Regions from separate parts of the Homo sapiens genome. Here regions 2 and 3 are each linked to region 1. Evidence: promoter capture Hi-C in 16 types of primary human blood cells and fetal thymus (Javierre and others, 2016). All regions are on one chromosome and are shown on one strand. Each heading gives the region's core, a stretch centred on a gene start or on the middle of the fragment in contact. The rest is flanking DNA. Distances are from core to core; before and after follow the strand shown. Region 1 holds the start of RHO (rhodopsin). Region 2 overlaps EFCAB12 (EF-hand calcium binding domain 12). Region 3 has its middle 38 kb from the start of PLXND1.

Region 1 (4,673 bases), core at 835-3,334:
GAGGGGGAAGGGGCAGAGGGACCACACGCTGAGGAGAGCTGGGCAAAGAAATTCCAGGGAATGGGGGAAGTTATTTGCTTAGCGCTCTGGGCCCATAAGGGACACGAATCAGATCAGGGGGTCAGGATTGAACTGGGAACCCGGTAGGGAGTTTTGTGTGTGTGTGTGTGTGTGTGTGTGTGTGTGTGTTGTGTGTGTGTGTGTGTGTGTGTGTGTTTAGCAGAAGAATGCATCCTAATGTGGGGCAGAGTTCCTTGTTGGGAAGGAATGCAGAGGTGGTGGAAACCCAGAATTGGCAGTCCTTCCTCCCTCTCCCTTCTCGGGAAATGAAATAACCCGGACATGTGGGGGCCTCTCCTAGGAGCCATGAAGCAATGTGCAATGTTTTGCCCAGAGGAAGAAGAAGGAAATGATGGAATTCAGACATCTGTCCTGCTCACCACCCCATGAAGTTCCATAGGGAGAGTGGCCATATAGTTAATCAACCAAACTGGGACATTCCTAACAGTGAAAGGGACAATATTTGTAAACTGGGACTGACCCTGCAGAGAACAACCACCCGTAAGTGGCACACCCACCTTCTGGCCAGAACTGAGTGATCTGTGATTATTGAATGCAACAAACACCCAACAATGGCCAGAGATTCCCTGAGAATGGGACCGAGGCAGCAGCCTGGACATGGGGGAGACAGGGCAAGGCTGGCAGAGAGACGCTTGTGGCTGGCGGTAAGCTCTCCCCGTCACCCAGCTTTGCAATGGCTGCTTCTAGCGTCTCCTCCTGCATCTCAGCAGAGATATTCCTGGATCACAGCCAGGAGACCTAGGCTCTTGTTGCTGCCTGGCCACATCCCTAAATGAGTCTCTTCCCCTCTCCCTGCCTCAGTTTTCCTCTCTGTTAAGTGGGATCTGTTATCCCTGCAGCACCCCATCTGTTTTCCTGTTAAATGCAAGACATTATTCTAAAGCAAAAAGGAACTGCTTCAGAGCGGCTGCTTGCGGTTCTCAACACCAGGAGACTTGGAACGCGGCAGGGAGGCTGGAGGGGCACCTGAGGACAGGGGCTGAGAGGGGAGGCAGAGGATGCCAGAGGGGACCGAGCCCATTGCCCAGCACAGGGAAGACCCAATGACTGGAGAATGGAAAATCCACTTCCCACCCTGAGCTTGGGCCCCCAGAGAGGAGGGGTCTGGCTTGCCCAGCTCTCCCTCAGTGCCCAGCCTGGGTCTGACTCAGCACAGCTGCTCCAAGGGAAACAGAGGCTTGGTGCTGCAAACATGGCCCGAGATAGATGCGGGCTTCCAACTCAACTCTGCACCCGTCCCTGTGTGACGCCCCAGCAGGGCGCTTGACTTCTTTGAGCCTCAGCTCAGTTTTCTTGCTGTGAAATTAGACAAGCGCATATTGCTCCAAATAAGATCAAGGCAGTGTTCAGTGCCAGCCCTGCACAAACAGCAGCCCGGCTATCACCATGAATGGTGTTTGTTGACTGAATATATGAGGGCTTTGGATAACATTGACAGGACAGGAGAAGGGAGAAGGCCTCTCAGCCACCACCGCCAAGCCCGGGACTCTCCCAGACCCCTCCATGCTCCCGGGCTCCTGCACACCCCACCCACACCCGGCTCATACCGCCCAGGGTGGCAAAGAAGCCCTCCAAATTGCATCCTGTGGGCCCGAAGACGAAGTATCCATGCAGAGAGGTGTAGAGGGTGCTGGTGAAGCCACCTAGGACCATGAAGAGGTCAGCCACGGCTAGGTTGAGCAGGATGTAGTTGAGAGGCGTGCGCAGCTTCTTGTGCTGGACGGTGACGTAGAGCGTGAGGAAGTTGATGGGGAAGCCCAGCACGATCAGCAGAAACATGTAGGCGGCCAGCATGGAGAACTGCCATGGCTCAGCCAGGTAGTACTGTGGGTACTCGAAGGGGCTGCGTACCACACCCGTCGCATTGGAGAAGGGCACGTAGAAGTTAGGGCCTTCTGTGCCATTCATGGCTGTGGCCCTTGTGGCTGACCCGTGGCTGCTCCCACCCAAGAATGCTGCGAAGGCCTGAGCTCAGCCACTCAGGGCTCCAGCTGGATGACTCTGGGTTCTGACCCCCCCAGACCCTTATAAAGTGACCTCCCCCTCCTAAGCTCCTGGCTGAATCAGCATCTGGGAGATTGGGGGTGTTCATAATCATATTAATCCCCGCTGCAGAAACTGAGGGCCTAATTGGCTTCTAAGAGGGGCCAAGGTGACACTAGGAGGAAGCCTGAGGTCAGGGAGGAGAGGTACTCAGGATCCAGGAAAAGGGAGGAGAAGGTCCCCTAACTTCTGCATGACTTGTCTGTCCCAAGGTCCCAGCTCAGTCTGGTGGCCTGGGTTTGAAATAGGGACCATGGGCCTCTGTGCTATGTCCTCTGGACAGCTAGAGACTTTCTGGTTTATTCTCCCAGTCTCTCATCTCGTCACACAGCCCCTTACCTGTTCGTTCCCCCACAAGTTACCTCTGGAGTCATCCAGTCCCCACACTCCTCTGACAGGAGGAGCTCCATGAGGGCAGGGGCTGCAACCTGCAGCTTCCGTTTCTGGTGCCAGACACATAGCCTAGGGCCCAGGAGCCCAATCCTTGTTGCATGGAATTGGAATTCACTCTCTTGTTCGTTCATTAAACATTTATTTGCAGGCCCCTGGGAATACAAAGATGGAAAGAAACAGCCCTGCCCAGAGGAGCTCAGGGGCTGAGGAGGACTCAAATGTGGGAAGAAGCAGATTCCGTCCAGGGTGGCTGTGAGGTTGTGGAGACAGGGCCTGACTGCCTGGGGGTTGCAGTCTGGGAGGCCATGTTTGGGCCTTTGAGAGAAGGAGCAGTTTGCCAGGTGGCTAGGTGGGGAAGATCTGGGCTGGGGGCAGTTGTAATGGGTCTTGAACGCTAGGCCGGGGAACCTGGCTTTATCCAGAGGAAAGTGAGCAGTGGCTTGGGCAGATCACTGGTGTAGAAAGGTGACTCAAATGCCCCCAAAGATGGAGTGGAGGGAGGGAGGATGGAGGGGGCTACCAGAGCAGGGGAGGGGCAGAACCCTTCAGGGGACTCCAGTCTGAAGGGGAGGCTGGCCCTGGAGGCAGCAGACAGGGCACTGTTGGGGGAGGCCTAATCAGCCACGAGGGCCTCAAATGCCATGTACCAGGTGGCCCCACGAGGGCCGATTCCAGAATAGCAGGATGTACCGTGAGAAAGAAAGTAGTCAGAGCCTTGGGGGCAGATGACTGGGGGAAAATGGAGGCCAACACTGGCAGGTCCCCCTCTCCCCGTCGTCCAAGCAACATGATGACACCTCCCAGGAATGAAGTGGGGTGTCTGGGGCGGCCTGTGCAAGTGCTGAGAGTGCCCGACGTGCGGCCGCTCAGTGACCACTGTCCAGCCAACATGTGTATTGAGCACCTACTGTGGCCCAGACAAGGTGCTTGGTCCTTGGGGACACACAGGGTACACGAAAGAGCAAGCTCCTGCTCACAAGAAGCCAGTGTTTTTGTGGGGTGAGGGGGCACAGGGACCACAAACAAATAGAAGAGCGAATAACAGTAGGGACAGTTCAGTCGCAGCCACTCCCAACACAGGAGGCTTCTCTGAGAAGCTGGAGCTTGAGCTGAGAACGGAACAACAGGAGGAAGCTTCAGGGGAAGGACATCCAGGCGGAAGGACCCCTGAGAGTGCAAAGCCCTGATGCCTGGGAAATATCCCTTAATCTCTCTCTCACTGTCTCTCTTCCCACCCAGGATTCCCAGATCTGTCTGCTCAGAAGAGTGCCCCCTTCCCTGCAGCCCACCTGGGCTCCAGCCCCCTACCTGGCCTGGGTGGTGTTGGGTCTAACAGCGTTTGGCACACGTGGCAGGGCTAAGGCAGGGCGGGTGGGATGGGGCCTCTCGTAGTTTAAGGCGCTTGGCCTGGTGATTATGCCCAACGCTAATGAGGTTAAGGTGAGGGTTTGATTCTGACGTGGACCCTCATGGCCAGAAGGAGGGTGTCCTGGATGCCTTGGGTCAAGACTGACCCACAACTGGCCCCTCCCTGGCCGGGCTGAGCCCCCATCCCACACAGCTTAGCAGTACCTCAGCATCTTGCTTTTTGCATAGTGCTTCTGACAGCATGGAAGCTTTTTATTTGTGTTTTGTGCCCGTCTCCCTGCCTGTAACATGAGTCCACAAGGGTAAGCCTGGGTCTGTCTTGCTCACAACAGGGTTCCCAGAGACCAGCATGGTGCTTGGCCTGTAGTGGAAAGAGGTGGGATGATGTCTGTTTTGTTCACTGATGTGTCTCCAGGGCCTGGCACCTAGAAGGTGCTCCTGAATATTTGTTGAATGAACGAGTGAGTGGGGGAATGGACCTAGATGATCTCAGTACTTCCCCTCTCTGTCTCAGGTTCCTCCTTTGTGAGTTTCACAATTGCAACCTCATGGAGCCCTGGTGATGGGGAACTAACAGCCATCACTGAGGTGACAGTGCTCTTTATTCTGTAAAGCTTGACGAAGAAAAAAAAAGTTTTGAGACAAGGTCTCTGTCGCCCAGGCTGGAGTGCAGTGCCACAATCATAGCTCACTGTAGCCTCTGCCTCCTGGGCTCAAGCGATCCTCTCACCTCAGCCTCCTGAGTAGCTGGGACCACAAGTGCACACCACTAGTTTTTGTATTTTTTG
Region 2 (4,673 bases), core at 1,519-4,018, 120 kb after region 1:
ACAAACAAACAAAAAAGAACCATTACAACCACCCACCCATTCTAGCACCCTTCCCAAACATAGCCACAGCTTTGTTTTTCTAAATGAAACAAATCTTGCTCTGTTCCCATCTACCAGGTTGGCAGGAACTTAATCTCATGCATGTTTGGGGCTTCCTTGTCCTCCCTGAGTCACACAGGAGCCCTGGAGGAGGCAGTGGAGGGGTTTCCTAACAATGGTAAAGATCTGGGGTGAGGCCGTTGGAGTTTACAGTCACACCAAGAGGAGTTACTCAGCATCCTCACTGGAGTGGCTCATTTGGGGACAGCAGGCAGCTCAGAGCATCCATTCCTCAGTCCTCCAGGAGATTTTCAATGTCCAGTCTCAACCAGCTGCCCTGCAGAGAAACTATCACCTCCCAAGCAGGGTCTCTGCCTCTCTCAGAGCTCAGGGAAGCTCAGCACCCCAACAGTCGCTCCTGCATGTGTCACCACCCCAACAGTAGTAATCTCCTTTATGTCCAGCACATTTTTAAGGTCACCTCAAGTTGGGCTGCTTTCCCTCTGATACTCTTTGTGCCTTTTTGTTATAAATTACCAAGCTTATCATTATCTGTGTAGCTGGCTGTGAGTCATTTCAATGACCACAGTGTGCTGTGATGCATATTCGCAGCAGAGATATTTTGGGTCCTGTTATTTCCCAGTAAGTAAACACAAAGCCAAGCAGCAGACCTTTGCTCTCATGGTGCTACTTTGGCGTCATCACTGAGTTCTTTTTCCCTGGTGAGCAATAGTGGGTAAGATAGGTAGACTGGGGTGTGTAAGAATTAAAGAAAGAGGAAAGAAACAGGAAAGGTGGCTCAATAGTCAAAGACAGGTTTATTTTAGAGAAAACAAACCTGAGAGGGGCTGCTGGCTGAGTTAGGTCAGAGCCACATTCTCTTACAGACTAAGAGTTTTTAAGGATTCACAGTGGAAGAGTTTATCAGAGGCTTGGACTGCTTCTCTGTCTCTTTGTTGTGTTTATCTGGGAGGCAGAGTTGCGTGTCTGTTTCCATACATCTTTCTGCAGCTGCAGGCATATCCCCCAAGTCTGCTTTTAGCTTCCCTATCTTAGTGCACCTGAAGGGAAAGGAATGTGCTTATTAAGGCCCACAGTTTTACTGGGGCCCATTGTATGAGGGTGAAGTTTGGCAGTCACCCAAGAGACTTTCCCCCGACCTCCCTCTGTGCCTGAGCTGTCTTGTCTGTGTTTTACTGTCTGCTCTTTCTGGCTGCTTATAGTTAGAAGAGAAGTGATTTCCTTGAAATGCATGAGGCTAGAAAGGGAGCTGGAACTTAAAGTGGCGGTGTTTGTCCCAGATGACGGTGCTCCTGCTCTGTCCGGGTGTCTCTCACTTTGTCTAAAGAGGCAAGAGTTTGAGCGTCTTGGCAGGGGTGCCTTCTTCCAGTAGTTCTTCTTGCAGTAGCTCTTCTTCATTCTTGCAGAATGATCTCAGTTTATCCTTTATGTCCGCAGAGGTCAGGATTGCTATTCCTGCTTTACGAGGAGGAAGCTGGAGCTCAGAGAGGCTGAGCCACTTGTTCACAGCCTCAATAGAAGGTGGTAAGGTCAGGATATTATTTCAGCTTGAGACGATGAAGGTCTGAACCAGGGCAGGGACAATGGGATTCTTTCATTCATTGGAATCTTTGTTGAGCAACTACTATGTGCCACTTCTAGAAACTGGGAACACAGCAGTGGGCCAGCCAAAGCCCCAGCTTTCGATGAGCTTGCACCTAAAGGGCTGGTGGTCAGGGACGGCCTCTCTGAGAAGCAGACATTGGAGCTGACATCTGAGTGATTGACAGGAACTAGTCTTGGGGGAAGCACAATCTAGGCAGATAGAACTGTGAAGGCAAAGGCCCTGGGGTAGGATAGCTTGCAAGAGACAGAAGGTGGTCAGGGTGGCTGGGTGGAATGGGTGAAGGGTGAATGGTATGCCATGGACCAGGTGGGAAGGCAGCTGAGGCCAGATGGTACAGCAGGGCCTTGTAGCCCAGGGAGAGGACTCTGGGTTTTGGTCTAAATGCTGTGGGAAGCCAAGGGAATGAGGCGATCTGGTCGGTCGGTCAGTCTGTCTATCTATCTATCTATCTATCTATCTATCTATCTATCTATCTATCTATCCATCCATCTACACATATCCAACATAAGGAGACTCATGCAATGGGGTCTCCTTATGTTGCCTAGGCTGGAGTGAAGTGGCTATTCACAGGTGTGATCATAGCTTACTGCAGCCTCAAATTCCTGGGCATAAGCAATCCTCCCACTTCAGCTTCCTGAGTAGCTAGAACCACAGGCGTGCCACTGCACCCTGCTTTATATATGTGTATATATATTTTTGGGGGGGGATGGAGTCTTGCTCTGCCATCCAGGTTTGAGTGCAGTGGTGTGATCTCTTCTCACTGCAACCTCCACCTCCCGGGTTCAAGCAATTCTCCTGTCTCAGCCTCCCAAGTAACTACTACAGGTGCACACCACTGCACCCGGCTAATTTTTGTATTTTTAGTAGAGATGGGGTTTCACCATATTGGTCAGGCTGGTCTTGAACTACTGACCTCAGCTGATCCACTCGCCTCAGCCTCCCAAAGTACCCTGCTCTATATTTTTTGTTTGTTTGTTTTTGAGAGGGAGTCTCACCGTGTCACCCAGGCTGGAGTGCAGTGGCACGATCTCGGCTCACTGCAACCTCCAGGTCCCAGGTTAAAGCAATTCTGCCTCAGCCTCCCGAATAGCTGGGACTACAGGCACGTGCCACCATGCCCGGCTAATTTTTTGTATTTTTAGTAGAGACGGGGTTTCACAGTGTTAGCCAGGATGGTCTCGATCTCCTGACTTCATGATCCGCCCTCCTCGGCCTCCCAAAGTGCTGGGATTACTGGCGTGAGCCACCGCGCCTGGCTATACTCTATATTTTTTAAAGATCCTATTTGCTGCTTGGTGAGACAGGGTGACAGGACGAGAATGGCAACCAGAGGGCTGGGGTTGGTGCAGTAAGGGACGCCATTAGTGGAGATGGAGAGGAGGGCCACATCTAAGGTACAGCTTAGGTGGCTTAGGTGGGCACTGCCCAGACGTGTGGGAAGGGAGCGGAGGGGTGGCCTGGTGCCTGCTGGGTGACACTGGATAACTGCTTGGCAGGTTCCGTGGCTGGGCACCCTCTTAGTCCCTCCTTCCTTCATCTCTTCCCTCTGACTCCAGATTATATCTTGGCCAAGCACAGAGATTCCCTGAAGGGTCCGCTCAAGAAGCAGGAGGTGGATTCAGCCCCACAGCTTCCCAAAGTGGACCTACTGACGGTGCCTGCAGTCGACACGCAGATGGAGACGCGGCCCATGACCCTGGAGGAGATGGAGGAAGTGGGCAAGCGGTACCGCGAGCGGCAGCGACAGCACAAGGTACCTCGCCAGCCCAAGGAGAGCATGCGGCTTGGGGACTGGAGCAGCTGGGGTTCAGATCACCGCAGCAGCACCACCCGCTGGCTGCAGAACCCTGGGGAGGGGGGTCTTCGCCTCTACAACCACCCCTTCTTCACGTCCCTCATCTGTAAAATAAGAACAATACCTGCCTCCTGAGGTTTTTGTAAAATGTAGTAAGATCCTGTTTCTGAAACTATCACGTCCCCCTCTCCCTATTCTTTAATTATGACTTTTCATCCTTAGACCAGGCCTGCATTTTCATCACAGCTGGAATCCAGGCACCTGGCACAGGGCCTGACACTGGGTAGACTCTCCAGAAATACATGGCAAGTGAAGGAAGGATTGATTGCATGAATTAGCTTGTCCAGTAAACATTTATTGAGAGCCTACCATGTGCCAGGCACTCTTCCGGGTGTTATAGTAAGCATAACAGTCCCTGCCCCTAGGAAGCTGACAGTCTGGTAAGGGAGGCAGACAACATCAATACAATACTACATATAAATATTCATATATAATATAGTCTGGGAGTGGTGTCTCGCACCTGTTAGCCCAGCGCTTTGAGAGGCCAAGGTAGGAGGACTGCTTAAGCCCAGGAGTTCGAGGCCATCCTAGGCAACATAGGGAGATCCTGTCTCTACAAAAAATTTAGAAAGTTAGCCTGGGGTGATGGCATGTGCCTGTGGTCCCAGCTACTCAGGAGGCTGAGGTGAGAGGACTGCCTGAGCCCAGGAGGTTGAGACTGAAGTGAGCTAAGATCGCACCACTGGACTCCAGCCGAGGGGAAAGAGCAAGATCTTGTCTCAAAAAAAAAAAAAAAATTATATACAGGCCAGGTGCAGTGGCTCATGCCTGTAATCCTAGCAATTTGGGAGGCCAAAGTAGGAGGATCACTTGAGGCCAGGAGTTTGAGACCAGCCTGGGCAACACAGCAAGGCCCCGTCTCTACACAAAATTTTTAAAAAATTAGCCAGCATGGTGGCATGTGCCTGTGGCTGCACCTACTGAAGAGGCTGAGGCCAGAAGATGGCTTGAACCTGGGAGGCCAAGGCTGCAGTGAGCTATTACTGCACAGTACACCCCAGCCCAGGCTACAGAGTGAGACCGTGTCTCTAAAAAAAAAAATAAATAAATAAACACAAATATATATATAATTAAAAATACATATTTGTATTTATACCTATAATATTTGTATTTGTACATATAATAAAATGGCAGATATTGCTAAGTGCTATA
Region 3 (4,673 bases), core at 634-3,133, 120 kb before region 1:
TTTAGGTAAGAACTCTGAAGCTTGGGTTAAATGGCTTGCCCAAAATTAATGTTAGGAAATGGTAAATTAATGCAATGGAAAATAGGTCTATGCGACATATATAACAAAAAATGAGCGTCCACAATATTTAAGACTACAAATCAATAATCATCTTTCCTATTGGTAACAGCTCAATAGAAAAGACAGGCAATAGTTATAAACAGAGAGCTTATAGAAAAATGACCAATAAGCGGCTGGGCGCGGTGGCTCACGCCTGTAATCCCAGCACTTTGGGAGGCTGAGGCGGGTGGATCACGAGGTCAGGAGATCGAGACCATCCTGGCTAACATGGTGAAACCCCGTCTCTACTAAAAAGACAAAAAAATTAGCCGGGCATGGTGGTAGGCGCCTGTAGTCCCAGCTACTCGGGAGGCTGAGGCAGGAGAATGGCGTGAACCCAGGAAGCGGAGCTTGCAGTGAGCCGAGATGGTGTCGCTGCACTCCAGCAGCCAGGGCGACAGAGCGAGACTCTGTCTCAAAAAAAAAAAAAGAAAAGAAAAATGACCAATAAGCATACCAGAAAATTGTTCAGCCTCCTGTATAATCAGTGCATTAAGATTTAAAAAGCCAACTGTGGAACAATATATTGTCTCCCATTTATGTTGAGAATATGTATATTTGTGTAAATATATGCATGTGGATGTGTAAAAACTTTGCATTAAACTTTCCCGTTATTTTGGGAAGGGAGAGGGAGGAACAGTGGTTAAGCAGCACTTTCATGCTTGGCTTCTATAAAGTATGAATCTCTTTGAAGAAAATGTATTTGTGTATTTTTTAAATTAAATATATCAAAAACTTAAAAATAGGTCCAGTGAGAAGTGAAAAAAGAATTGATAGTGTTCCTAATGACAGATCATACTAGACCATCTTTTGCCTCCAGATTGCCTTAGAGGGGGCTCTAGACCAAGTTTGGGCCACCCCTTGAGCTTTCTTCCAGCCCTGGATTTCTAGGCTTGGGGGTCACATAGATGTCCCGCTGCCAGAAGCCCTGCGGGCTGAGAAGGAGGAGCACGTGCAGAGGTGACAGCAGCAGCTGGTACCTCCTATTTAGCCAGCAGCACTTAAGAGCCACTCTATACAAGACTGGGCTGTGGAAAAAGGAACTTAGTAGAATGAAATACATGTGGTAAAGAGGCAGAAGACGTGTGGGAGCAAAGAGGAGGAAGCAATTCTAACAGAGCAATAGGGAAAGGCTCAACGGAGGAGGCCATGGTATCTGGACTGAAAGATGGTGGCTTTATGATGAGCAGAAATAGGTGAGGGGGCATTTCTATTGGAGGTATTAGCAAAACCACAGAGGTGAAAACGGCCTAGGTGAGCAGTTCAAGCAATGGATAAGGAGCCTTAAGTGACTGGTAGGGTGCCTGAAAGAATGTGTGAGAATCATATGTGGGGGCCAAGTTGCAAGAAATCTTGAATACCACGCTAAAGGTTTACCTTGTGACTACAAGAGAAGCCATTACAGGTGTTGAAAGGTGACCCAGCCTTCTGTTTAATTACAGCCCTTTGAGAAGAAACCAGAAACCTGTTTTTCAGGTCATCCCAATCAGTTGGGTGTTTGAGGAATGGTGTCCAAGGTATTTGGTCTTTTGCCTATTGATCCTGTAAGTAGAGGCTCTTCACAGTTTTTTGATAAGTGGAAAAAGGGTGTAGGCAACTCAGAGTTCAGTTCTTTTAAAAAAAAAAAATCCCTGGGCCAGGCGCTGTGGCTCACGCCTGTAATCCCAGCACTTTGGGAGGCCGAGGCAGGCGGATCACGAGGTCAAGAGATGGAGACCATTCTGGCCAACATGGTGAAACCCCGTCACTACTAAAAGTACAAAAATTAGCTGGGCGTGGTGGCACTCACCTGTAGTCCCAGCTACTTGGGAGGCTGAGGCAGGAGAATTGCTTGAACCTGGGAGGCGGAGGTTGCAGTGAGCCGAGATCACGCCACTGCACTCCAGCCTAGCGACAGAGCAAGACTCCATCTCAAAAAAAAAAAAAAAATCCCTGTCACCTTTGGTATTACAATCCTTAAATCCCAGAGCAAGAGTACTTGACAAAATTTATTCATGCTTCTGTCTTACTGAATGTTTAAGCTGTTCAAGAGAATATTCTTTATCTGTTGAAAGAATTCAGTTCAATAGTTTTCGAGACTGTATTAAAAGGTGCAACAAATCATGATGAAAATGAATTATGTTAAATTTTGCCTAAAGCTGCTTCTGTACATATCTTAAGTTTGGCCTAAAGGTTTCTCCATACATAGGGAACTGTAACCTAGCCAGGCATAAGCAGATTGGAACCTACTCTTGTAACGAGTAGCCAAGTCTCCGCCAATCACAGCAGCCGAACTTCAGTCAACCACAGGCAGCCAACTGTTGAAATAAGGTACAAGCCCAGAATAAGTTTAACAAGAATAAGTGAGGTCTGCATACCTCACTTCAATTTTTTATACACCACTTGCCTTTTTCTGTCCATAAATGTTACTTAGCCATATGGCAGCCCCAGACTCTCACTGACCTGTCCTGGTCTTAGGGGCTGCCCAATTCATGAATCATTCTTTGTTAAATTTAACTTGTCTAAAGTTTTTATTTTAAGTATTTTATTTTATTTTATTTCATCTCATTTTATTTTGACAGAGTCTTGCTCTGTCGCCCAGGCTGGAGTGCAGTGGCACGATCTTGGCTCACTGCAACCTCCATCTCCCAGGTTCAAGTGATTCTCCTGCCTCAGCCTCCCAAGTAGCTGGGATTATAGGCCTGTGCCACCACACCGAGCTAATTTTTTGTATTTTTTAGTAGAGACGGGGTTTCACCATGTTGGCCAGGCTGGTCGCTGGTCTCGAACTCCTGACCTCAGGTGATCCACCCACCTCAGCCTCCCAAAGTGCTGGGATTATAGGCATGAACCACCGCGCCTGGCCTCTTTTAAGAATTTTAATAACCACTTTACCTTAACAGAAGGTTGTGAAGGTTATGAGGATTAAATGAAAATTGTACAGAGCCTAGCCCAGCATCTGGCAAGAGAAAGTGCTATACCATGATCTTGATTATTAGTAGACTGAGAATTCCTAGAGGACAGGCACCTGTGTCACTCATCTAACTCTCTTCAGAATATAGCACATCTCCCATTCTTACCAACGAAGAGCCCAGTAGCCAGAATTTGGGCTATCCTCAGCCAGCCCTGGCTCTTAAGTTGGTTTGGGGAACCAAAAAATCAGTATGTGTCAGAGAATGGGCTGGCCATGGGGACAAGAAAAGAATATCGTGTCCATAAGAACAAAAACTCGCAAATGGGGCCAGGCACAGTGGCTCACGCCTGTAATCTCAACACTTTGGGAGGCCAAGGCAGGTGGATTGGTTGAGGCCCAGAGTTCAAGACTAGCCTGGGCAACATAGACTCTATCTCAAAAACAAAACAAAACGAAACAAAAAAGCCTTTGCGAGTGAATACACATATAATTGGCTGATAATCTATTTTACTTATAATTTCTTAACCAGCACAGTGACAGGGACGTTGTCAGTTTGTGGCTATGTCCTAAGTGCCTGAAACAATGCCTGGCCCAGAATTGGTGCTCATTAAAAAGTGGAACTTAAAAAATTGCTATTAATTGAGTCCCTATTCTGTGCCAGGCACAGTGCCACTTGTTATGCTTCTGATTGTTTCAACCGTTCTAAAGAGGAGGTGGTATAACTTCCATTTTTCAGATGAAACCAAAAGCTTGGGAAGGTTGTTTGCATTTTATCTTGTGGACAAGCTGTTTCACTAGTAAATGGCAAAGTCAGGATTTGAACTTGGTTGAGTTTGATTCTAAAGCCCATGCAATTTCTGCTATTCCATTTTGTTGGGCAAGGAATCAAGAATTGTGGATTTCAGACTTTGTGTAATCTTGAGAAGGCAAGGATCTGACTTCTTCTGGATCTCTGTGTCCCTGCTGTAAAGTCACCTTAGTTCTCCTCCAGCAATCAAATAATAAAACAATTATTTGGTGCCGAGCTCACGATCTCCCTATGAGCATTGGCCATGGCCACCGAAAGGGTTAAACATCAGGACAGGACAAGGTGGGAATTTATAGCTGAAATCTAGGCATGACCATAACAGGATTGTGTGTGTGGCAGAGGGGAGGGGGAGCAGGGGATGGATTTGAGGCAAATGTACAAAATGTCTGCATGGTGGTGGGTACCAGTATTCTTACTGTATGAAGTATTTCAGAATCTAAAAGAGAAAATAAAATATAAGGAATCTGGAGGGCGGAAGGAGGGAGAGAAGCAGGAAAATAATAACTAATGGATGAAATAATCTGGGTGATGAAATAATCTGTACAACCAATCCCCATGACACACGTTTACCTATGTAACAAACCTGCACATCCTGCACATGTACCCCTGAACCTAAAAGTAAAAAATAAAAATAAGGAGTCATGGTATTGACATATAGCACATTAATGGGAGCAAATGATGGTAATTGGGCATATTCACATTCTTCATGAAATCTGTGAGTTTTGCTCTGTGGGGAAAAGCAAGAGAGATCAGATTGTTACTGTGTCTGTGTAGAAAGAAGTAGACATGGGAGACTCCATTTTGTTCTGTACTAAGAAAAATTCTTCTGCCTTGAGATTCTGTTAATCTATAACCTTACCCCCAACCCCGTGC

Evidence for each region. Contacts are between HindIII fragments. The CHiCAGO score rates a contact against its expected background, and 5 or more counts as called.
Region 2: a contact is called between a fragment that was not itself captured here and the fragment with the promoter of RHO in region 1, in 1 of 17 cell types (endothelial precursors). The highest score is 5.1, in endothelial precursors.
Region 3: a contact is called between a fragment that was not itself captured here and the fragment with the promoter of RHO in region 1, in 1 of 17 cell types (M2 macrophages). The highest score is 5.1, in M2 macrophages.

What each region holds. Positions count from the first base shown.
Region 1 is chr3:129,526,050-129,530,722 of GRCh38, reverse strand. It overlaps RHO (rhodopsin), which reads right to left and starts at 2,084. Exons shown (of 5, transcript NM_000539.3): 1 at 1,629-2,084. The coding sequence starts at 1,989. RefSeq lists enhancers at 682-1,407, 1,408-2,133 and a silencer at 4,331-4,531. The HindIII fragment of the contact is 8,320 bases long and covers 1-3,653 here.
Region 2 is chr3:129,409,904-129,414,576 of GRCh38, reverse strand. EFCAB12 (EF-hand calcium binding domain 12) reads left to right here. Exons shown (of 9, transcript NM_207307.3): 5 at 3,223-3,419. Among named protein-coding and RNA genes, the nearest start is that of SNORA7B, 15 kb to the right of the region's middle. RefSeq lists an enhancer at 3,294-3,794. The HindIII fragment of the contact is 4,372 bases long and covers 583-4,673 here.
Region 3 is chr3:129,641,918-129,646,590 of GRCh38, reverse strand. No RefSeq gene overlaps it. Among named protein-coding and RNA genes, the nearest start is that of PLXND1, 38 kb to the right of the region's middle. The HindIII fragment of the contact is 3,721 bases long and covers 23-3,743 here.